7 separate regions of the Homo sapiens genome follow, and all the other regions are linked to region 1. The links are contacts of gene promoters, found by promoter capture Hi-C in human tissues and cell types (Jung and others, 2019). All regions are on one chromosome and are shown on one strand. Each heading gives the region's core, a stretch centred on a gene start or on the middle of the fragment in contact. The rest is flanking DNA. Distances are from core to core; before and after follow the strand shown. Region 1 holds the start of SLC19A1 (solute carrier family 19 member 1). Region 2 overlaps PCBP3 (poly(rC) binding protein 3). Region 3 has its middle 25 kb from the start of LINC00316. Region 4 overlaps PCBP3 (poly(rC) binding protein 3). Region 5 overlaps PCBP3 (poly(rC) binding protein 3). Region 6 overlaps PCBP3 (poly(rC) binding protein 3). Region 7 holds the start of COL18A1 (collagen type XVIII alpha 1 chain).

Evidence for each region. The method cuts DNA at HindIII sites, captures the fragments that hold promoters and counts their contacts. A contact is called where the count stands out against the background at its distance.
Region 2: a contact is called between a fragment that was not itself captured here and the fragment with the promoter of SLC19A1 in region 1, in 4 of the 25 tissues and cell types used here (IMR-90 fibroblasts, dorsolateral prefrontal cortex, lymphoblastoid cells and 1 more).
Region 3: a fragment that was not itself captured here is called in contact with the fragment with the promoter of SLC19A1 in region 1 in 4 of the 25 tissues and cell types used here (H1 embryonic stem cells, dorsolateral prefrontal cortex, mesendoderm cells and 1 more).
Region 4: a fragment that was not itself captured here is called in contact with the fragment with the promoter of SLC19A1 in region 1 in 1 of the 25 tissues and cell types used here (aorta).
Region 5: a fragment that was not itself captured here is called in contact with the fragment with the promoter of SLC19A1 in region 1 in 2 of the 25 tissues and cell types used here (lymphoblastoid cells and mesendoderm cells).
Region 6: a contact is called between a fragment that was not itself captured here and the fragment with the promoter of SLC19A1 in region 1, in 1 of the 25 tissues and cell types used here (H1 embryonic stem cells).
Region 7: a contact is called between the fragment with the promoter of COL18A1 here and the fragment with the promoter of SLC19A1 in region 1, in 2 of the 25 tissues and cell types used here (adrenal gland and thymus).

Annotation. Positions count from the first base shown.
Region 1 is chr21:45,541,010-45,543,983 of GRCh38, reverse strand. It overlaps SLC19A1 (solute carrier family 19 member 1), which reads left to right and starts at 1,544. Exons shown (of 6, transcript NM_194255.4): 1 at 1,544-1,616. RefSeq lists silencers at 1,271-1,350, 1,391-1,700, 2,051-2,110 and an enhancer at 904-1,416. The HindIII fragment of the contact is 13,138 bases long and covers 1-2,974 here.
Region 2 is chr21:45,772,539-45,775,512 of GRCh38, reverse strand. All of the region lies in intron 4 of PCBP3 (poly(rC) binding protein 3), which reads right to left. Among named protein-coding and RNA genes, the nearest start is that of PCBP3-AS1, 62 kb to the left of the region's middle. The HindIII fragment of the contact is 3,374 bases long and covers 1-2,974 here.
Region 3 is chr21:45,315,701-45,318,674 of GRCh38, reverse strand. No RefSeq gene overlaps it. Among named protein-coding and RNA genes, the nearest start is that of LINC00316, 25 kb to the left of the region's middle. RefSeq lists an enhancer at 1-151. The HindIII fragment of the contact is 7,844 bases long and covers 1-2,974 here.
Region 4 is chr21:45,741,320-45,744,293 of GRCh38, reverse strand. The region is part of intron 3 of PCBP3 (poly(rC) binding protein 3); the gene reads right to left. Among named protein-coding and RNA genes, the nearest start is that of PCBP3-AS1, 94 kb to the left of the region's middle. The HindIII fragment of the contact is 8,727 bases long and covers 1-2,974 here.
Region 5 is chr21:45,716,592-45,719,565 of GRCh38, reverse strand. All of the region lies in intron 2 of PCBP3 (poly(rC) binding protein 3), which reads right to left. Among named protein-coding and RNA genes, the nearest start is that of PCBP3, 74 kb to the right of the region's middle. The HindIII fragment of the contact is 3,124 bases long and covers 1-2,974 here.
Region 6 is chr21:45,695,945-45,698,918 of GRCh38, reverse strand. All of the region lies in intron 2 of PCBP3 (poly(rC) binding protein 3), which reads right to left. Among named protein-coding and RNA genes, the nearest start is that of PCBP3, 54 kb to the right of the region's middle. The HindIII fragment of the contact is 5,398 bases long and covers 1-2,974 here.
Region 7 is chr21:45,403,772-45,406,745 of GRCh38, reverse strand. It overlaps COL18A1 (collagen type XVIII alpha 1 chain), which reads right to left and starts at 1,581. Exons shown (of 42, transcript NM_001379500.1): 1 at 1,505-1,581; 2 at 1,273-1,367. The coding sequence starts at 1,515. It overlaps BNAT1 (breast cancer associated ESR1 regulating natural antisense transcript 1), which reads left to right and starts at 384. Exons shown (of 2, transcript NR_183526.1): 1 at 384-579; 2 at 2,250-2,940. RefSeq lists an enhancer at 1,726-2,426. The HindIII fragment of the contact is 38,297 bases long and covers 1-2,974 here.

The DNA.
Region 1 (2,974 bases), core at 295-2,794:
CCTGGCCTGTCCTGCGTGTAAAGGGAGCAGGCTGCCCTGGCGAGCTGGCCCCATGGCTGGCTCCTCTCTGCCTGGAGGGAAGGAAGGGCCCCTCCTCCTCCGCGTTGCCCCTCCTGTCTTCCAGCAGGGCCAGGTTCTGCCCACCCGTGGAGAAGGCCAGTACAGGGGAGAGAGCCAGGGCTCCCACAAAGCAGGGGGTCCCTCCAGGTGAGGCGCTCCATCCTGTAGTGTTCCCTTAAATTCTGCAAGCTACCCCAGATCCCCCATTTCCAGCCAACAAATCCTTTTTAAGTTCCTTTGAGATTTGTTCGTGTGGCTTGCTACACTCAGGACTCTGGAAAGAAGGCCCAGGCCAGAGCTTTGGGCAGGCGGCCATTTAGGGCAAGGGCCCTGTGTTGGCTTCCTGGTGGGGTTGCCCTGCTGGTGGGCGGGAGACCAAGAGCACCCCCGCAACACCAGGAGGCAGGTCGCGGATTGTGCTGTCTACACTCCGGAAGGGGTACATTCCAGGGGCTGCTGCCCCAGACTCACCCCTCGCCTGGGACCCGCACTCTTGAGCTGTGGGTACCACGGTGGCCGTCCCCTTCTGTTCTGTGCAGTGGACTTCCTGGCTCCTCCTTAGCCTTGGGGCCCCCACAGCCCTCGGCTTGGCTTCCCTCCCCATAGCCAGGCCCTGGGTAACTCCAGGGGAAAGTGACCCTGAGGCCCCCCACTTCTCCCCGTGTCCTGCACAGGCCTTGGGCTTTCGGCGGTGCTGTCTGCCGCAGCCCCACGCCTTCCTGGGAGAGTGGCCCAGGCCCCCCTTCCTGAGTGTGACTGCGCTGCCGTCTGCGAGGCCTGCGCGGGTCTCCCCCGGGCTGTCCCTGCTGGGATGGGGACTGGTGGCCCCGGGCCACGTCCTGGATCCGGCTTGCTCCTTGGTACAAGCCCGTACGGGTCACGGTCAGGCAGGAGGGCGGGCGGCGGGGTCCCGGGGGCGCCGAGTTCGGGGCCGTGCGGTCCCCAAGAGCAGGCTGTGCGTGTCCCTGTTGGAGCCCCACGAAGGCGGCCCAGGGCCACCCCTGAGGGCGCGTGGGCCCGACCCGCGTCCCGGATCCAGCTTGCGGCCAGGAATGCAGGTGTTCCAGGGTGCCAAAAGGAAAACGCACAAGGCCTCGTCGAGGAGGGGGGGTCAGGAGGGGACCGGGGGTGGGAAGAACGCGGGGGAGAGGGATGGCAGGGTGCCCGCCCGAGGGACCGACACCTCCGCGAGTGGCACCCCAGGATGCTGACGCCGGCGGGGGTGGGGGCCCGAGGGGCGGTCGGGGTCAGGGGGCGGCCCCAGGGGTAGGGCCGCAGCACGAGGGGCCGCGTGACCCCGGCGGTGACCGGGTGGGGAGAGGCCGGCGCCGGGGCTGGGAGACGGCCGTGGGTGGGAGGGTGCCCCGTGGGGACGCTCCTGCCGCAGCGCCCGGCCACGCGCGAGGCCCCGCCCTCAGGACGCGTTCGGCGGGACGGACCCGCCCACCCCGCAGCCGCGCGCCCGCCGCGCCGCCTTGTGGGCGCTGTAGTCCCGGAGTCCGCGTGCGCGGGGCCGGGTCCGGGAGCCCCAGGGCAGCCGCCCCGCCGAGTCGCAGGTACCGGTGGGGAACGGGGCCACGGGGCCGCGTGTCGGGGGCTGCGGGGTGTCTCGGGGCCCTGGGGTGAGTGCGGGGCGCGGGCCGAGGTTTGCAGGGCCCTGTGAGGTGAGTGTGGGGGCTGGCGCTGGGGTCCGCGGGGCCCTGGGGAGGGTGCGGGGCGTGGGCCGGGGTCTGCGGTCTGCAGCCTGGGGTCCGCGGGGCCCTGGGGAGGGTGCGGGGCGTGGGCCGGGGTCTGCGGTCTGCAGCCTGGGGTCTGGGGGGCCCTGGGGAGGGTGCGGGGCGTGGCCGGGGTCTGCGGTCTGCAGCCTGGGGTCTGGGGGGCCCTGGGGAGGGTGCGGGGCGTGGGCCGGGGTCTCCGCGGGGGTCGCGGTGGCCCGGGCGCCTGGCAGAACCGTTGCTGTGCAGCGGGTTTCCCGCCGCTCGCTTTCCGCCGCAGCCTGCGAATGGGGTGGGGAGTCCCGGCCCCCAGCCTGCCCTCCGCGTCATCCTGGGGCGCCAAGTCCCACCCCCGGGTCTGGAGGAAAGCGTGGATCCGGCGTTCGCGCCCAGGCACGTGTTGCTTCGGGACGGGCCAGCCGGTGGGTGAACCCTGCCAGCCACGCGTGGGGCGGGCCCCTGGCACATCTCCAGACCATTGTCTCCTGTGCCAGAAGCTTTGTAGGTGCAACTTCCCCTTGGAGCAGCTGTGGGTGCGGATCCAGCGGAGCAATCCCGAGGCGTCTCAGAGAGAGCCTGGACAGCCGCTGGAGCCTTTCCCGAGTGGGTCCTTCCAACACCGCTACAGCAGGAAAGCCATCCCCCTAGGGTCCTGTCCATCGGAAACTCCTGTCCTGGGGAGTCTGGCCTGCCTGGCCTCAGGACACAGGCCAACTAAGCTGGCCCCGAAATCCAGAATGCATCCAGAGGGAAGGTGGGATAAAGTCCTTGGAGGCGCCTGTTGGCCGCCCTGTAAAGAGGTGGCCTCCCCCTACGGAGACCCGAGGATCCCCGCACAGCCCAGATTCAATCAGCAGAGCCGAGGTGCCTCTGGCCCAGTGCACCTGCCTGCCCTGTCCAGGCCTGGGAGCCAGGCTGCATCTCACTGGCCGCCTTTGCCTGGGTGCCACCTGTGCACTGCTTGTTGCAATTGCTAATTGCTTTCTTTCCGAAGGGGCTTTGGTGGATTTTTATAATTCCAGATAGTACAGTTATCTCTGCTGGACACAGATGAGAAAGAGTGCTTCTCGGGTGTTTGGGCCTGCAGCAGTGATAGCCGGAGGGTCTAATTATGCTGTTAGGAACCCTGAACTTGGTCATCTGAACAGGGGTGGGAGGGTGTGCAATGCTTTCTTCTTCTTCTTTTTAAACTAGCAGGC
Region 2 (2,974 bases), core at 324-2,823, 230 kb before region 1:
CCAGGGGTTTGAGGCTGCAGTGAGCTGTGATCATGCCACTGCACTCCAGCCTGGGTAACAGAGTGAGACCCTGTTTCTAAAAATTTTTTTAAATAAAAAAGAAGAGAGAAGAACCAAAGAAAACAAAATCAGAAATGAATAAGGAGGCATTTAAATTAAACTGATACCACAGAAATACAAAAGATCATCAGAGACTATTATAAAAAAAAAAGCTATATACTCACAAACTAGAAAACCTGGAAGAAATGGATAAACTCCTGGAAGTATACAACCTGCCAAGACTGAGTCAGGAGGAAATAAAAATCCTGAACAGACTAATAAGGAATAGTGAGACTGAATCAGTAGTAAAAGCCTCCCAATACAGAAAAGTCCAGGTCCAGGTGAATTCACAGCAGAATTCTACCAAAAGTACAAAGAAAAACTAATACTAATCCTCCAGAAACTACTCCAAAATATCAAAGAGAAGGGAAATCTTCCTAATTCATTCTACAAGGGCAGCATTACCCTGACACCAAAACCAGACAAGAATACAACAAAATAAAACTACAGGCCAATATCCCTGATGAACACAGACACAATAATGCTCAACAAAATGTTAGCAAACCAAATCCAACAGCACATCAGAAAAATAATACACCATAATCAAGTGAGATTTATACCAGGAATACAAGTATGGTTTAACATACAGAAATCAATAAACATGATATATCACATAACAGAGTGAGTGATAAAAACCATATGGCCATCTCAATAAATGCAAAAATGCATTTGATAAAATTCAACATCTCCTCATGATAAAAACTCTCAACAAACTAAGCATAGTGGTAACATACCTCAAAATAATGAAGCCATATATGACAAAGCCACAACCAACATAATACTAGAGAAAAGCTAAGAGTGTTCTCTCTAAGAATTAGAAGAAGATAAAGATACGTACTTTCACCACTCCTATTCAACATAATACTGGAAGTCCTAGCCAGAGCAGCCAGGAAAGAGAAATAAATAAAAGGAAACCAAGTTGAAAAAGAGGAAGTCAAATTGTCCTTCTTTGCTGATGATATAATTTTATCCAGAAAAAACTAAAGTCTCCACCAAAAAGACTTTTTTTTCTTTTTTTTTTTTTTGAGATGGAGTCTTGCTCTGTCGCCAGGCTGGAGTGCAGTGGCGCAATCTCGGTTCACAGGTTCAAGGGACTCTCCTGCCTCAGCCTCCCGAGTAGCTGGGATTACAGGCACGCACCACCACGCCCAGCTAATTTTTGCATTTTTTTTTAGTAGATATGGAGTTTCACCATGTTGGCCAGGATGATCTCAATCTCTTGACCTTGTGATCTGCCCACTTCAGCTTCCCAAAGTGCTAGGATTACAGGTGTGAGCCACCACGCCCGGCCCCATAAAACTTTTAGATGCGATAAATGAATTCAGTAAGTTGCAGGATACAAAATCAACATACAAAATCAGCAGCATTTCCACACACCAATAGTGATCTAGTCAAGAAAGAAATCAAGAAGACAATCACATTTACAACAGCTACACAAAATACCTAGGAATAAATTTAACCAAGGAAAGGAAAGATTTCTATAAGGAAAACTACAAAGTGCTGATGAAAGAAATTGAAGATGACACAAATGGAAAAGCATCCCATGTTCGTGGATACGAAGAATTAATATCATTAAAATGACCATATTGCCCAAAGCAATCTACAGATTCAATGCAAGCCCTATCAAAATACCAACCTCATTCACAGAATTAGAAAAAAAAATTCTAAAATCCATATGGAACCAAAAAAGGGCACAAATAGCTAAAGCAATCCTGAGCAAAAAGAACAAAGCTGGAGGCATTACATTATCTGACTTCAAAATATATAACAAGGGTACAGTAACCAGAACAGTATGGCACTTATATAAAAATAGACACAGAGGTCACTGGAGCAGAATAGAGAACCCAGAAATAAAACCACAAAGCTTCTGGTTTAATAGTCCCATTAAAAAGTGAACAAAGGACATGAATAGACATTTCTTAAAAGAAGACACACAAACAGCCAAGAAGTATGTGAAAAAATGTTCAACATAATCTTCAACAAAGCTGACAAGAACTTACACTGGGGGAAAAGGACACCCTCTTCAATAAACGGTGGTGGAAAAAATTGGATAGCCACATGCAGAAGAATAAAATTCGACCTTATCTCTCACCATACACAAAAATCAATTCAAAATGGATTAAATACTTAAAATGTAAGACCTGAAACTATAAAAATACTTAACTGTAAGACCTGAAACTATAAAAATACTTAAATGTAAGACATGGAACTATAAAAATACTAGAAGAAAACCTAGGGAAAACTCTCCCGGACATTGGTCTAGGCAAAGAATTTATGACTAAGACCGCAAAAGCATAGGCAACAAAAACAAAAATAGACAAATGGAACTATATTAAATTAAAAAGCTTCTGCACAGCAAAGAAAACAATCAGCAGAGTGAAAAGACAACCTGTTGAATAGGGAGAAAATATTTGCAAATTATTCTTCTGACAGAGGACTAACATCCAGAATATAAAGGGAACTCAATCAAAAGGGAAAAAAACAAATAGTCCCACTAAAAAGTGAACAAAGGACCTTAATAGACATTTCTTAAAAGAAGACACACAAACAGCCAAGAAGTATGTGAAAAAAATGTTCAACATAATTAATCACCAGAGAAACGCAAATCAAAACCACAATGAGATGTCATCTTGAACCATTCAGAATGGCTGTTATTAAAAATAGAATGGCCATAATAAAAAAATAACAGGTGTTGGTGAGGATGCAGGAAAAAGAAAATACTTATATATCATTGGTGGGAATGTAAACGAGTACAGCCACTATGGAAAACAGTACAGAGATTTTTCAAAAAAACTAAAAATAAAATTACCATTAAATCAAGCAATCCCACTACTGGGTATCTACCCAAAGGAAATAAAATCAGTATATCAAAGTA
Region 3 (2,974 bases), core at 121-2,620, 230 kb after region 1:
GGGGCTGTGACCTCCAGGTTCATTGGGCCCTGGGTGGGGAAAGGCACCCTCCATGTCATGCCCAGTGCATGCAGGGGTCCCCGAGAGGCCTGGGCACCCAGGGACAGCCCCCACCCCAGCCCACCTGGCAGCCACTGCAGGTGACCAGAAGGCTAGTCCCAGGCTGTGGGAAGATGGCCCAGGGCTTGGTGGGGAAGGAACATCAGGGGACGGGGCAGGAAGGGGAATGGAGCCCCTCTGGAGGAGCCTGAAGCCCCTGGGGTGGTGCACGTGGAGTTTCTCAGCCAGAGAAGTGGGGGCCAGAGGAGTGGGGGCAGCCACCCACGTCCTGGAGACGGTGACTGACCTGGAGGTGGTGGGGGGGTTCGATTTTTCATGAGTGGAGGAGCTTGGGGCTCCCCAAGCGCATGTCGGGGGGCACTTCCTGGTTCCTTGGCCTCTGGCCTGTGGGTGCCCAGCCCCTAGGACCAGCCTGGAGGTAACATCCAAATGGGGTGGGATTCCCTGAAGGCCACAGGGACCCCCTCACAAGCCTTCTCCCAAGTACCCCCACCCTGGACCCTCTGAGCTGGCCTGAAGTGGGGGTCTTGGGGTGACCGTCTCAGCCCCTCCTCACGTCCCCAACTCCAGGCTGAGCCAGGCGTGGCCTCCTCCACCGTGGCCTCCTCTGCCATGGGTGCTGAGATTGCCCTGCTTCCTCCCACCCTGTTTCTTCTTGAGATTGGGGTGGGCGGCCTGGCTGGGGACACTTGAGGTCACCCCCGGGCCCCCAAGGCCAATCACGGCAGGACTAGGCGTCCTAAGAGGAGGCGGAGTGGGGATCTGCTCACCAAAGCCACAGAAGAGGATCCCAGGCTAACCCGGGTCCTTGCAGACCGATGGGAATCCATGAAGTCAAACAGGGTGAATTTCTAAGACAAAAGCTGGTGTTGTTTATTTTTTGTGACTGAGTCACTCTTCCCAGCCTCTTCCCAGGATGGAGATGCCAGCATTGTTTCTCGCCCCCTCGCCTCTTTCATGTGTGTCCTCAATGCCCCAGTGAGAAAGGGAGGGACAGACAACAAGCTCAGGTCCCAGCCCCCACCCCACCTACATGCCCATTTCTGCAGCTGTCGGAAGCTGCAGTGCAAGTTCCACGCTAGTGGCTGGTGCTGTGAAGGTACCACGGCCAGGAAGTGAGGTCCCAGAAGCAGCCTGGGCACCCCTGGGCGCTGGGTAGAAATGCAGAGTCCCAGGCTCCAGCCCAGACCTGCTGAGTCAGAATCTGCATTTTAACAAGAGCCGGGGTTCCAGGCCCCTGTTGAGGAGCACTCAGGGGGCTTCCATTGGCCCCAGCTCTAAAGAAGTCGTGCGGCCCGGCCCGTGTACAGGTATGACCATTTGGCCAAGGCTGCCCTTCTCAAAGACCTGGGCGGCACCCTTAGACGGCTTCTTAGAGGCCTGGGTGGGCCCCCCCCCCACACCAGGGTCCGGGTGGGCCAGGGCACCTGCATTCCTACAGCACCAAGGGTGCCCAGGCTGCTGGTTGGGGCACACTTTGAGCCGCTCCCGGGCGTAAGACAGTAAACTCCACCCACAGGAGCTTTTGGCTGCATTTGGGCTAAGGATGGTTTGCACGTGTTTAAATGCTTGGAGAAAAATACAAAGAAAAACATGGACAGAGCAGAGTGGGTGCACGGACCATGTGGCCGCAAAGCTTAAATCCATTACTTTCCAGGCCTCGACAGAGCTGGCTGGTCCCTGCTCTGAGTAACAGAGAAAGTAAAAGAGCCCCCCTAAGAGAGCCGGTTCCCTTTGATAACCACAGCCCCTCACGCCCCGGCCTCCCCCACCTCCCCCGCCTCCGGAGATCACACTCGCGTGCCACTGATGCCTGGTGCCTTCACACTTTCCACCTTTGCCAGGATTTTCTCTGGCTACTATAAGCTGAGCATTCTTTAGCATCTATCATTCCCATGTCCACCACTGGCCTTCTGACTTGGTTTCTGGGGTCTTTGGTGATAAAGTTGTGTTAGCTTCTGCTGCAGTCCACTTTATCTTCTCCTCCTCTGCTCCACGTGGGGCTGCGTCTTTGTTTGGGAGAGTTGCTATTCTAAGGTCCGTGTTCTCCTCTAATATCTTTTTAAGTTCCGGTGTATATGTGCAGGTGTGTTACATGGGTAAACATGTCCCATGGTGGTTTGCCGCACCTATCAACCCATCACCTAGGTATGAAGCCCAGCACACATTAGCTCTTTTCCCTAATGCTCTCCACCCCCACCCTCCCCCAACAGGACCTGGTGTGTGTTGTTCTCCACCCTGTGTCCGTATGTTTTCATTGTTCAGCTCCCACTTATAAGTGAACATGCGGTGTTTGGTTTTCTGTTCCTTTGTTAGTTTGCAGAGGATAATGGCTTTCAGCTTCATCCATGTCCCTGCAAAGGACGTGATCTCGTTCCTTTTTATAGCTGCATAGTATTCCATGGTCTATATGTACCACATTTTCTTTATCCAGTCTATCACTGATGGGCATTTGGGTTGATTCCATGTCTTTGCTATTGTGAATAGTGCTGCAGTGAACATACGTGTGCATGTATCTTTATAATAATTTATATTCCTTTGGGTATATACCCAGTTATGGGATAGCTTCTCAAATGGTATTTCTGGTTCTCAATCTTGGAGGAATCACCACACTGTCTTCCACAATGGTTGAACTAATTTACATTCCCACCGGCAGTGTAAAAGTGTTCCTATTTCTCCACAGCCTTGCCAGCATGTGCTGTTTCCTGACTTTTTCATAATTACCATTCTGACTGGCATGAGAACTCATTGTGGTTTTGATTTGCATTTCTCTAATGACCAGCGATGTTAAGCCTTTTTTCATGCATTTGTTGGCTGCATGTATGTCTTTTTTTGAGAAGTGTCTGTTCATATCCTTTGTGCACTTTTTAATGGGGTTGTTTGTTTTTCTCTTGTAAATTTGCTTAAGTTCCTT
Region 4 (2,974 bases), core at 191-2,690, 200 kb before region 1:
GAGCCCAGGAGTTCAAGGCTGCGGTGAGCTGGGATCAACATCCAACAGAGTGTGGCTCTGTCTCTAAAAAAATAATAAAAAGAAAAATTAAATTAAGTTAAAAATTTTTAAAGACTGAAAAATGACGAGCACAACATATATATGTTATATACATACATATGTATATATATATATAAAACATATACACATTTTTACCTATATACCTAAAAACTTGCTTAAAACTGACTGTTTCCTAAGCAAAAAACCATTGGTGTATAAGAAAATGTGTATAAAATCAATAACCATGGTAGAAATTATATAGACACTAAAAAATCAGTCTCCAAAATAGGCTCCAGGCTTAGCAGCTTTGATAGACGAATTCTATTAAAGGTAGAATTCTATCGAAGGCTGATAACATTTGCATTTCTAAACAGAAGACAGAAAAATTTGTTATTTAAAGGATAGAAAAACATGGGACAATTCTCAAATCATGTTATGAAAGCAAGCTATCATTTATTGCCAAAATCATATAAAAATTAGAAAAAAAAGAACCTTATAGAGCACTATCACCCTAGCCATAACCCTCACGATAACCCTAACAGTAACCCTAATCCTAACCTTTACAATAACTCGAACACTAACGGTAACTCCAACCCTTATGCTAGCCTTAACTCTAGCCCTAACCCTATTATTAACCCTTATTCTAGTCCCAATAAGATACTGGGAGCATATTATAATTGGAAGAGCTATGGCCTAACGGGGTTTATTCCAAGAATCAACACTTGGAATGTCAGGAACAGAATTCACTCCATTGAGAGACAAAAGCAGGAATCATACAACCACCTAAATAGTAGCAATGAACACATTTAGTGAAATGCAACTTTTTTGATTTTAAAAAACACGTAACTTAATAAATAGCAATAAAAGAAAACTTCTGTAGCTTAATGAAGAATATATACCAGAGAGCTACAGGGAGCATACTTCATGGTGAATGTTGGGTCAAGGTAAAAATAAGTCAAATTTCACCTGAAAACCCTTTTGCAAATAAAACCATTTTAACATGTGACCACATTCAAATATATAAAAACTGATAGTTTTCCTATATAATGTTAAATATTTGATAAATGCAATGGGAAAAATCCCAATTACAATAACCAAATAACACAAATTAGTTGGAAAAAAATTTGAAAGATAAAACCTACAGCAAGAAAGCTATGAAATGTAACTGAAGGCTAATAACAGAATAAATGGAAAGACAGATTCCCTTTCTATATAGGAAACTATTTAAATATTGTTAAAATGTCAGCTGTTTATAATTTAAATTATAGATCTGATCCATTTGAAAAGAAACCTCAATATGATTAACTTTTTAAACTTGAAAATCATTCTAAAGTTCATTTAGAAAGTAGGTAGCCAAGAATAACCAAAATATTTTTTGAAATATTGGTTACCTTTATCAGATATGGAAATATATCGTGAAACTAAAATAATTAAAACAGTGTACCAGCACTAGAACAAAGAGGTCAATTAGAGAATTCAGAAACAGACACTAAAATACACAATATTTTCATATGTGGTACACATACATAAAAAGTTGCAGCATGAATCATTAGAAAAATGAAGTATTTTGAATAAATGGTGTTTCTAATATAAGAAAAAATAACTTAGATCTTCACCTAAGAACATACACCTAATTAAATCCCAAGAAAAGGATTTTCTAAATGTAAACACAATAAGAGACGACATCACAACGGAAAATACTGAGCGAGCTACCCAAAATGCTACAGATCAGATGAAAAAGTGCACGACTCAACTGGGGAAAATTCCTCCCACAGACATAAAAGCAGAGTATCTTCAATAATGCAAGAATGCTTATGAGCATGGGGGAAAACGACATTATTGTTAAAGAGCTAAGCCATGTGTGTTCAGTGTGCTTCTGCATTTCGAGATGGAGACGTATGCAGTACCTGGTGTGTCAGGATACAACAGCACAGGCACTCTGGTACAGCCTTGTTCAAGTACAAACTTGCACTTTTGAGATCAACCTGGCAATTACACATTATGCCTCTTTTAAATGTCCATGTCCTCTGACCCAGGAATTCTGTAGGTGTGAACACTGCCTACAAAAGAGAGGAAGCTGCTGTGGATTTATGCACAAGGGTGTTTACCTCGTATTATGGATATTAGTGGAAAATCAGAAAAAATAAACAAAAAGGGAATAATCCAATAAATGATACCTAGATCCACAACATGGGAAACCATGCAACCTTCTAAAAATAATGTTCTCAAACTAGGTAAGGTCGAACACTTTGCAGAATACTATTCAGTTAAAAAGCAGGGCACGAAAGTGTGTACTGAATGCCTGAGGCAGACAGTCTGGACTGGAATTTCCCCACCGCCCCCAGGGCACTGGGCAAGAGGCGCTCACCAGGCCTAACGCTGCAGAGCTCAAGCAACCTGAGGAGAAAGATCTGCCTCAGATTCACCAAGCCAGAGGCCGGGCCTCTGAAGTGGAGAGGACCAGAGGGCAAGGGCAGTGGAAGTCTGCCCTGGCAGGAGCAGGGCAAGCAAGGGAGCTCAGGGCCTGAGGTTCATCAATTTTTTATAAAATAATATTTGCCATATAACCTTTAAAATTTTTTATTTTTAATAAAACTATAAATATACACAGTTTTTAAAAGCAAATAATTCGATAAAGCTTATGAAAAGCAGTGGCCCTACCCCTCCCTTGCCCCCTACATCACAATCCTTCCCTGAGCTCTTAGCCTCTTTTGGCATTTCTTTATCTCCATATTTCTAATTACTGAGTTTGTATTGCTATTCTTGATCTTACAACTTTATGTATCAGCTGTTAGCTTCCTGCTATAAAAGATGAGCACTGACTCTCCTGAGCCCCTACCTCGCCCTCCTCCCCACTTTCCAGGACTCCCCTCGCTGGCTGTGCACCTGGTACCCACACCTGATGCTGCAGCTCCCTTCTTGCACAATGTTTCTG
Region 5 (2,974 bases), core at 165-2,664, 180 kb before region 1:
CATGGGGAAAATCACCCCCATGATCCAGTTACCTCCACCTGGTCCTGCCCTTGACATGTGTGGATTTTGGGTAATGGAGATTACAATTCAAGATGAGATCTGAGTGAGGACACAAAGCCTAACCATATCAGTATGTCTTGGAGAAGACACACTAAAAACCCTCTGCACACATTTCCTGCCACCGGGTATGGCTTGTTCTCACTTCTCAGTTCCTCAGTTGTCTTCTTTTAACTCTCTCAGTGATGGCCCCTCTAGCCTCCCTGAGAACACTTGCTGTTCTGTCCTTCATCCCCAAGAGCGGCCCCAAGTCACTCGCATCCACTGAGAAGCCCCTTCCCAAACTGCCTCAGCTCTAATTCTGAGGTAAAGCCAACCTTATTGCAGGGTGAGGATTACGAACGGTCAGCCAGATACAGCTGAGCTAATCACACAACATGGCTTGTTCCCCGAATTCAGCCAGGCCAGGGTTAACCCAAGACGGAAATTTCTCACACACTGACCTCCCGTCCCATTAGCTGGGCTCTAGATTTGCTGCTTGGCCCTGCTTAGCACAAGTCCCACACTGTTTCCACTCCTTTATTTTACAGAGCATCTTGATATCAGATGAATAGGCAGCTCTCCACTGCTGTTCTTTTCCAAACTGTTGGCCAGTCTTATGCTTTTATCCCCTTGTGACATTTAGAAGCCATTCATCAATTTTCATAAAATATCCTGTGGCAATCACATTCATTTTTTGAAAAGTGTTCATTATAAAACATAGGACGCAGATGGCATCTGTGAGAATGGCAGAGTAATAACCACTAACAGCTTACCTCTCCATAAAAGCAATGAGAACCCTGGCAAAATTGTCACAATTAACTTTTTAAGAGCTCTGGAAATTCATCAAAGGCTTGCAGCAATCCAAGGATCACTGATTCAAGAAAAACAACTGGACCTTGGTAAGAACAGTGAGCATTGTGGCATTTTAACTTACCCTACTTCCATCCCCTTCCCCCGAGCTGCATCCAAGCCTTGAAAACCAAGAGCCCAGCAATCAATGAGAACCAGCAGCCTGGCTGGCATGGAAGCGGCAGAACAGGACAGGAGTCTTTCGAAGCTGTAAACACCTACCTTTAAAAAAGAGGCAAGATCTCAATTCGATAACCTAAACTTCCATCTTAAGAAATTAGTAAAACAAGAGAAAACTAAACCCAAAGCAAGCAGAAGGAAGGAAACAACAAATACTATGGCAACAAGAAACTAAATAGAAATAGAAATTAAATAGAAATTAAACAGAATAGAAAACAAAACCAAAAGTTAGTTTCTTGAAAAGATCAAAAAATTGACAAATCTTCACCTAGACTAGCAAAAAAAAAAAAGGAGAGAAGACTCAAATTATTAAAATTAGGAATGAAAGAGGAGACATCACAACCAACCTTGCAGAAATAAAAAGGATTATAAGAAAATACTATAAACAATTTTATATCAACAAAAAGCCTAGATGAACAAATTCCTAGAAACACACAGAAACTACAGAAACTGACTCTAGATAAAAGAGAAATCTGAACAAACCTAAAACAAGTGAAGAGGTTTAGTAACCAAAAAACTTTCCACAAGGAAAAGTCCAGGATCAGATGGCATTACTACCGTATTCTGCCAAACATTTAAGTAAGAATTAACAACAACCCCTCACAAACTCTTTCAAAATTACAGACAAGAAAAGGATACTTCCCAACTCATTTTATGAGGCCAGTATTAGCCCAATACCAAACCCAAACAAAGACATCAAGAGAAAACCAAAGACCAATGTCTCTTATGAATACACATGTAAAACATCACAACAAAAATATTAGCAAACCAAATCTAACAATATATAAAAAAGATTACACACTATAATCAAGTGGGGTTTATCCCCAAAATGCAAAGTTGGCTTAATATCCAAAAATCGATCAATGCAATACATCATATTAATGGAATAAAGGACAAAAACCACATGATCATCTCAGTAGACACAGAAAAAGCATTTGACAAATTTCAATATATCTAATGATAAAAACACTCAAAAAAACTAGGAATAAAAGGAAGCTTTATTAACTTAATAATGGATATCTATGAAAAACTCGCAGCTAACATCATGAACAATAGTAAAAGATTGAAAGCTTTTCCCCTAAGATGAGAAACAGGACAAGGATGCCTGCCCTTGCCAGTACAATCAACGCTGTATTGGAGGTTTTAGCCAGGACAATTAGGCAAGAAAAAGAAATACAGGGCATCCAGACTGAAAAGGAAAAATACAAATATCTCTATTTGGAGATGACATGATATTGTATATAGAAAATACTAAGAAATCCACTAAAAAACTAGTATAATAAAGTTCAACAAGGTGGCAGGGATCAATATACAAAAAGTAATTGTATTTCTGTACACTAGCAATGAACAATCCAAAAATAAAATTTTAAAAAATCCATTCGTAATAGCAGCAAAAATAATAAAAAACTTAGGAATAGATTTAATTTTTTAAAAATGCAAGACTTATACACCAAAAACTACAAGAAAGGGAAAGGAATTAAACAAAACCTAAATAAATAGAAAAACATCCTATGTTCAATGTAATATTATTAAGATGGCAATATGTCCTAAACTAATCTACAAATTCAATGCAATCTCTATAAAAATCCCAGCCAACTTTCTGACAGAAATTGACAAGCTGATTCTAAAATTCATATGAAAACTCAAGGGACTCAGAATAGCCAAAACAATCTTAAAAAAGAAAAACAAAGTCAGAAGACTCACATTTCCCAATTTGAAAACTTACTACAAAGCTACAGCACTCAATACATTGTCATATGGGCATGTTCTGGACTGAACTGTATCCCCACAAAACCCATGTGTTGAAGACCTAATCCCCCAAATCACTATATTTAAACACAGGGATTTTAAAGAGGTATTAATAATTAGGATTAAATGAGATCATAAGGGTGGGGCCCTAATCCAA
Region 6 (2,974 bases), core at 320-2,819, 150 kb before region 1:
CCCTGCCCCTGCCGTGAAGCAAGACTGGCTAAGAACACACCCCACAGCAAAGACACTTCCTTTGGTGTGGACCAGAATCATTCATCATGATGCATTAAACTCAGGTTGCATCAAAATGAAGAAGGGCCAAGCCAAAATCTCCTTGATTATGGGAAACTTAGTCATTTGTTCTCTGAGTCAGCTTAATGGTGCATAATGTTCACATCATATTCTTTTGGGGCTGGGCCAAGAGGCCAGCATGTTTGCCAGCAGTGCAGCAATGAGCTAATCAGCCTTTTGGCTCCCACATTCCTGGCCAAGAGCTCTTCTGGAATGAGTGCTGTCACTGCACCAGACCAGAGACCTCACGTAGACTGCTCTTTCTTTTCCTCTATGTCACATGCTGGTCCTTGCTTTCATCAGATGATCCCCAGATCCCTTCTCCCCAAGAGAGCCCTGCTAGGCTGAGGCTCTGAGACGTGATGCTAGAAATTCAGCCCAACAAATTATTTATTGAAAAGCCCTGTCCTGGTAGCTGCTTGGTGGGCGACAGCCCCCATCCTCAAGAAGCATGTGTCCCCCATAATGGGAGGCTAATGCATGAACACAAATGTCTTCAATGCCATACAGTGTCAGGTATGCATAATCAGAGAAGAGCACACACTCCACAAACAATGTGGAGTGTCAGAGAGGTGGGCACTTTGGAGAAGGGGAAGGAGCCCCAAGAGGATGGTACCTCAGCCTAATCTTGGAGAGTCTGTGGAACAGGCCTGGCACATAGGGATGTTGCAGTAAGGGAGAGTTATTATTATTTTATTCCCTAGACTCCTGTTTTCTAACTTGTAAAATAGAAAAAAGTTGTTTTTCACATCTCCCAGGGACTAAATTGTGAAGCCCAGGTGAGACAACAGGATAAGGTGCATGGGAAGTAGTGTGTAGGGAAGGTGGATGGGCCAGATGGGGACTCAGCATCTGGTGTCTGATGACTGAGATGTTTCAGCCTGTGTGATATCTACCCCTGGCCACTTATGAGGCTCACACAACAGAGGAGAAGTCTTCTGGACTTTCTGGAAACTAGTAGGACACAGCTGATTCAAAAATGAGCCATGGCTACATGTTCTGTCTCTGTCTTATTAATAAGATAAGTAGGAGAATAATTCCTTTGTAATTTTTTTTTTTTTTTTTGAGACAGGGTCTCCCTCTGTTGCCCAGGCTGGAGTGCAGTGGAGTGCAGTGTCATGATCATGGCTCACTGCAGCCTTCACCGGCCAGGCTCGAGCAATCCTCCCATCTCAGCCTTCCGAGTAGCTTGGACCACAGGTGTGCACACCTACACCCGGCTAATTCTTAAATTTTTTGTAGAGGTGATATCTCACTATGTTGTCTAGGCTGGTCTCAAACTCCCAGACTCAAGCAATCCTCCTGCCTCAGCCTCCCAAAGTGCTGGAACTGCAGGTATGAGCCATAGCATCTGGCAACTTTGTGATATTTTTTAAGTGGTTTGTATGATTAAGATGGAAAAGTTTTTAAAAATTAAATTATTAGTGAGTGTATTCTCCACAAGTTTGTGCTGGAGCATAAATTTAGAAAGATATTTAGAGTATTTAGAGTAATTTTTTATGCCATGTGGTATTCCAATGTACATATGTTCCATAATTTGCTTGTTTGTTTAACTAAAACAGTTGAACTGCTGACAGGCATTCGGGATGTTTCCAGTGTTTCACTATTAGGCATAAAGCTTCTAGGAAATTTCTTATAGATATCATTTGGCCAACATATGTGCATATTTCTCTTGCACATATATCCAGAAGGAAGACTAGTGTGTCATATGGTTGGTGTAGGTTTATTTTAAGTAGATACTTGCCAGACATATTTTCAAAGTGGTCAAAGCAGGTCACAATCAACCAGCAGCATATAAGAATTCAGTTGTTCCACATCCTCACCAGCACTTGCCATTTTCTGTCTTTTTCACACCTGCCTTTCTAAAGGCTATTGTGGTACCTCACTGTGGTTTTAATCTGTACTTTCTGGATCACTGACAGCACTGAGTACTTCTTTATAAGTTACTGGACATTTCAATGTCCCCTTTTGTGAAGTGTCTGCTCAAGGCTCTTGCCCATTTTTTGTTGGTTGCCTTTTTTTTTTTTCTTGAGACAGAGTCTTGCTCTGTGGCCAGGCTGGAATGCAATGGCGCAATCTCGGCTCACTGCAACCTCTGCCTCCCGGGTTCAAGCAATTCTCCTGCCTCAGCCTCCCAAGCAGCTGGGACTACAGGCGTGCGCCACCATGCCCAGCTAATTTTTGTATTTTCAGTAGAGATGGGGTTCCACGATGTTGGCCAGGATGGTCTCGATCTCTTGACCTCATGATCCACCCACCTCTGCCTCCCAAAGTGCTGGGATTACAGGCATGAACCACCGCACCCAGCCTGTTGATTGCCTTTTTTAAAAAATTAACTTGCAGTCGTTTTCATACATTCTGGAGACAAATCTTTTGGTTAATATATGTATTGCAAACATCTTTTCTTGGTGCATGCCGTTTTTCACATTTCTCTCACTTAATGGTCTTCTGATAAACAAAAGTTCTTATTTTTAATAAAGTCCAACTTCTCAACTGTTTCTTTTATAGGTAGGGCTTATTGAGTCTGGTTTAAGAAAAATTTGTTTACCCTGAAGCCATGAAGAAAATATTCTTCCATATTTTCCTCTAGCAGCGTTACTATATTCCTTTAACACTTAGGTCCAATCCAAGTGTGGCTGGTGTGAGACGGAGTCCAAGTTCATGTTTTCCGTATGTATGTCCAGTTACTCTACTTCCATTTATTGAAAAGACCTTTTTTTTTTTTTTTTTTTTTTTTTTTGAGACAGAGTCTTGCTCTAGTTACCCAGGCTGGAGTGCAGTGGCGCGATCTCGGCTCACTGCAACCTCCGCCTCCTGGGTTCAAGTGATTCTCCTGCCTCAGCCTCCTGAGTGGCTGGAATTACAGGTGTGTGCC
Region 7 (2,974 bases), core at 332-2,831, 140 kb after region 1:
GCCCCAGCGTCTTTCCTTTCCTTTGTCCCTGTGCGATTTAAAACATCCCGCCCAGGGAGCCCTGGTCTGGGCCCTGTGGGCGCTGGCGGCCCGGCTCAGAGGGCAGCTCTGCGGCCTGATTAATGGCCCCGAGTGACCCTGGGCCGCTGTGGGGATGGAGCCGCGTGAGCTCACAGCCGCTCTCCGCCCGTGTTTCACCCCCTAGAGTTCACACAGTAAATGAGGAATTGTCTACGACTCAACAAGCAGGTGTTTTCAATACATCTACTTATAAGCTAGCTACTTTTTTGAAAGGTCTATGCTACTATTTAACCTGGTGACTAAGTCGATTGGAAACAATGAAACAAATTATTACAGGAATCCAGACGACATCCCTCCCTCCCCCTTTCCTGCTTCCTCACCCGCTGTAGCAAGCAGGTGTGGAGTCGAGTCGGAGGCAGGCGCTGGCTGCGTGGACCCCCGGGTGGGATTCCACCCGCGACAAGGCACCCAGGCCCTTTGGGCGGGGCTCCCCTGGGGTCCGCGTCCCCGCCGCCTCCCCCGGGCCTCTGCTGGGCTGGCTGGAGGCAGGAGGCCCCGGTTAGCAGGTGGTGGGGAACTGGGTCCCGGGGTTGGAGGCAGGAAGGTCCCCACGGGCCCCGCGCACCGTTTGCCGCGCACGGGAAGCGGCGAGGCCGGCGGGGCAGCGGCTTCTGGGCATTGTTCTCGGACCGCGCGGCGCTCGGTTGGCATCAAAGGGGACCGCGCAACCCGACACCACGGCGGGCGCGGGGACAGAGGCCTGAGGGCGGCGGGGACAGAGGCGCACAAGGCCCGGCCCGCGGCGAGGAGCCTCAACAGGTTGGAAACGCGGAGACGACGCCCCGCGCTCCGCCGCCTTCCGCCCGCGGTCAGTCCCGGGACCCGGCGCTGCGGGGACGAGGCCGTGACGGCGACAGAGGCCGCGTCTCCCGAGACCCCGCGGCCCCGCCCCGAGCCCTCCCGGCACCGACGACCCCGCCGGCCGCGGAGGTTCGGTCCCCGCGCGGGGACTCCGGCCGCTCGCACCGCGCACCCCTCCCGGCCCGGACCCCGCGGGGAGAATGAATGGGCGGGACTCCGGCCACCCCGCCCCGCTCCGTCCGGCTCCGGCGCCTCCTGCGCGCGTGGGCAGGGCCGGGGCTGAACCCAGAGCGGCCGGGGCGGGGGTGAGGGAGCCGGGCGGGGACCCCAGCCAGGGCGGCGAGGCCGGCGGGCACCGGCGCGAACCTTCCCGTCCCGCCCGGGTCTTACCTGGCTCCGCGGAGGCCGCGCGGACCCCGAGCAGCAGGACCAGGGGCGCGAGCACGTCCAGGAGGCGCCGCCGCCGCGGCCATGGCCAGGGGCACCTGCGCGGGACAGGCACGGGTCAGACCCCGCAGGACCCCCGCGACCCCCGCAGGACCCGGCCGAGCCCCGCGACCCCCGCGACCCCCGCAGCCGCATCTTGGCGTCCCCCAACCCCTGCCCGCAGCCCCGGCCTCACCTCGGCGCCATGCTCTCCCCAGGACCGTCAGCGCCGCGGGATGCTGCCTCCTCCGCCGCGGTGCACCCGCTCGGACCGCCGCGCTGCAGCCGCCGCCGCTGGGAGGCCGGGCAGGGGGCGGGCAGGGGCCGGGCAGGGGCCGGGCAGGGGGCGGGGCGGGCGCGGGCAGGGGGCGGGCGCGGGGCGGGGCCGGGCAGGGGCCGGGCAGGGGGCGGAGCGACGAGCAGGGCAAGGCCCGGGGAGGGGAGAGGGGGGCGGGCGCCGCAGCGGACCTGCGGCTGCGAGGACGGGGCGGGCCGGGACCCGGGGGCGGCGGGGACGGGCGAGGACGGACGGGGACACGTCCCGCCCCGAGGGAACCGCCCGAGGCTGCGACCCAGCACAGGGCCCGGGGGCTGCCCCGCGAGGAAGCCCAGGTTTATGCGGAAGGTGAACACCGCTGCCCGCCGGGCTACGACCCCAGCCCCTGAGTCCGGTGGGGCAGCGGGAAGGGGGGAGATTTGAATAGAGTCACCGCGGGGGGGACGGGACGGAGGAGGAAGCCGGCACCTCCGGCCCGCAAGGCCCCTGCAGGGTCCTGCCCCGGCTGCACGGAGGGACGGACGCGAGACAGGAGGGGCGTGCGAGGGCCAGATCTGTCCCCAGGTCCCCCTGTTCCCAGGGCGCGGCCCAGCAGAGCCTCTTCCTCCCCAGTTCCCAGGCTCCTCCTCCCTCCCAGGTGAAAACCCTGTTTCTATTTCTTCAGGGCCAGCATCCTGAGCCCCACCTGCAGGCCCTGGGCGCTTTCCTCCTGGCAGCTGTGCCCCCACCCGACCGGACCGCTCCCTGCAACCAGAGAGCCCTCACACCAGCAACACCCCCCAGCCTGCTCCCTCCTCGTGTGCGCGAAACTCATGGCACTGGCTTGACGGCTTTCTCTGAAACCCTCTGATTCCGCCTGGCCCATCCACACTGTCCCTTCCCGGCCAGGGCTCATCTCCTATGCCTGGACCAAACAGCGTAGTCTCCAGTCTCCCTGATCTCCCCACACGTGGCCCCACCCATCCTCTGAAGCAGCCCCAGGAGGCAGCAGTGACTTCACACTTCTAGTGCCCGGCCCTCCCGGCCCTCCTCTCTGGGCTTGCTTGCCAGGGTCCTCCCAACCTGACTGCTGCCTCCCACCTCCTCTCCGCCCCTGGAGCTCTCCAGCCGCAGCCGCGGGGCCTGCTTGGGATTCTCCTCTGCTGGCATCATCCCTGCCTGCCTCAGCCTTCCCAGGCCCAATCCTGCCCGATCTCACCTCTTCCCGCCCAGCCACCTGGTCGGGTCCCGACCAGCATCTGCCTTCAAACCTGGAGTCCTTCCCTGAGTGCTTGCGGTGCACTGTGAGGAAGGAAATCAATGTAAAGGATTATGACCCACATTTTTTAAAAATAAAAAGATTAAGGAGAACAGCATAGAGTAGAAGTGGTCATCGCACACTTCTGCAAA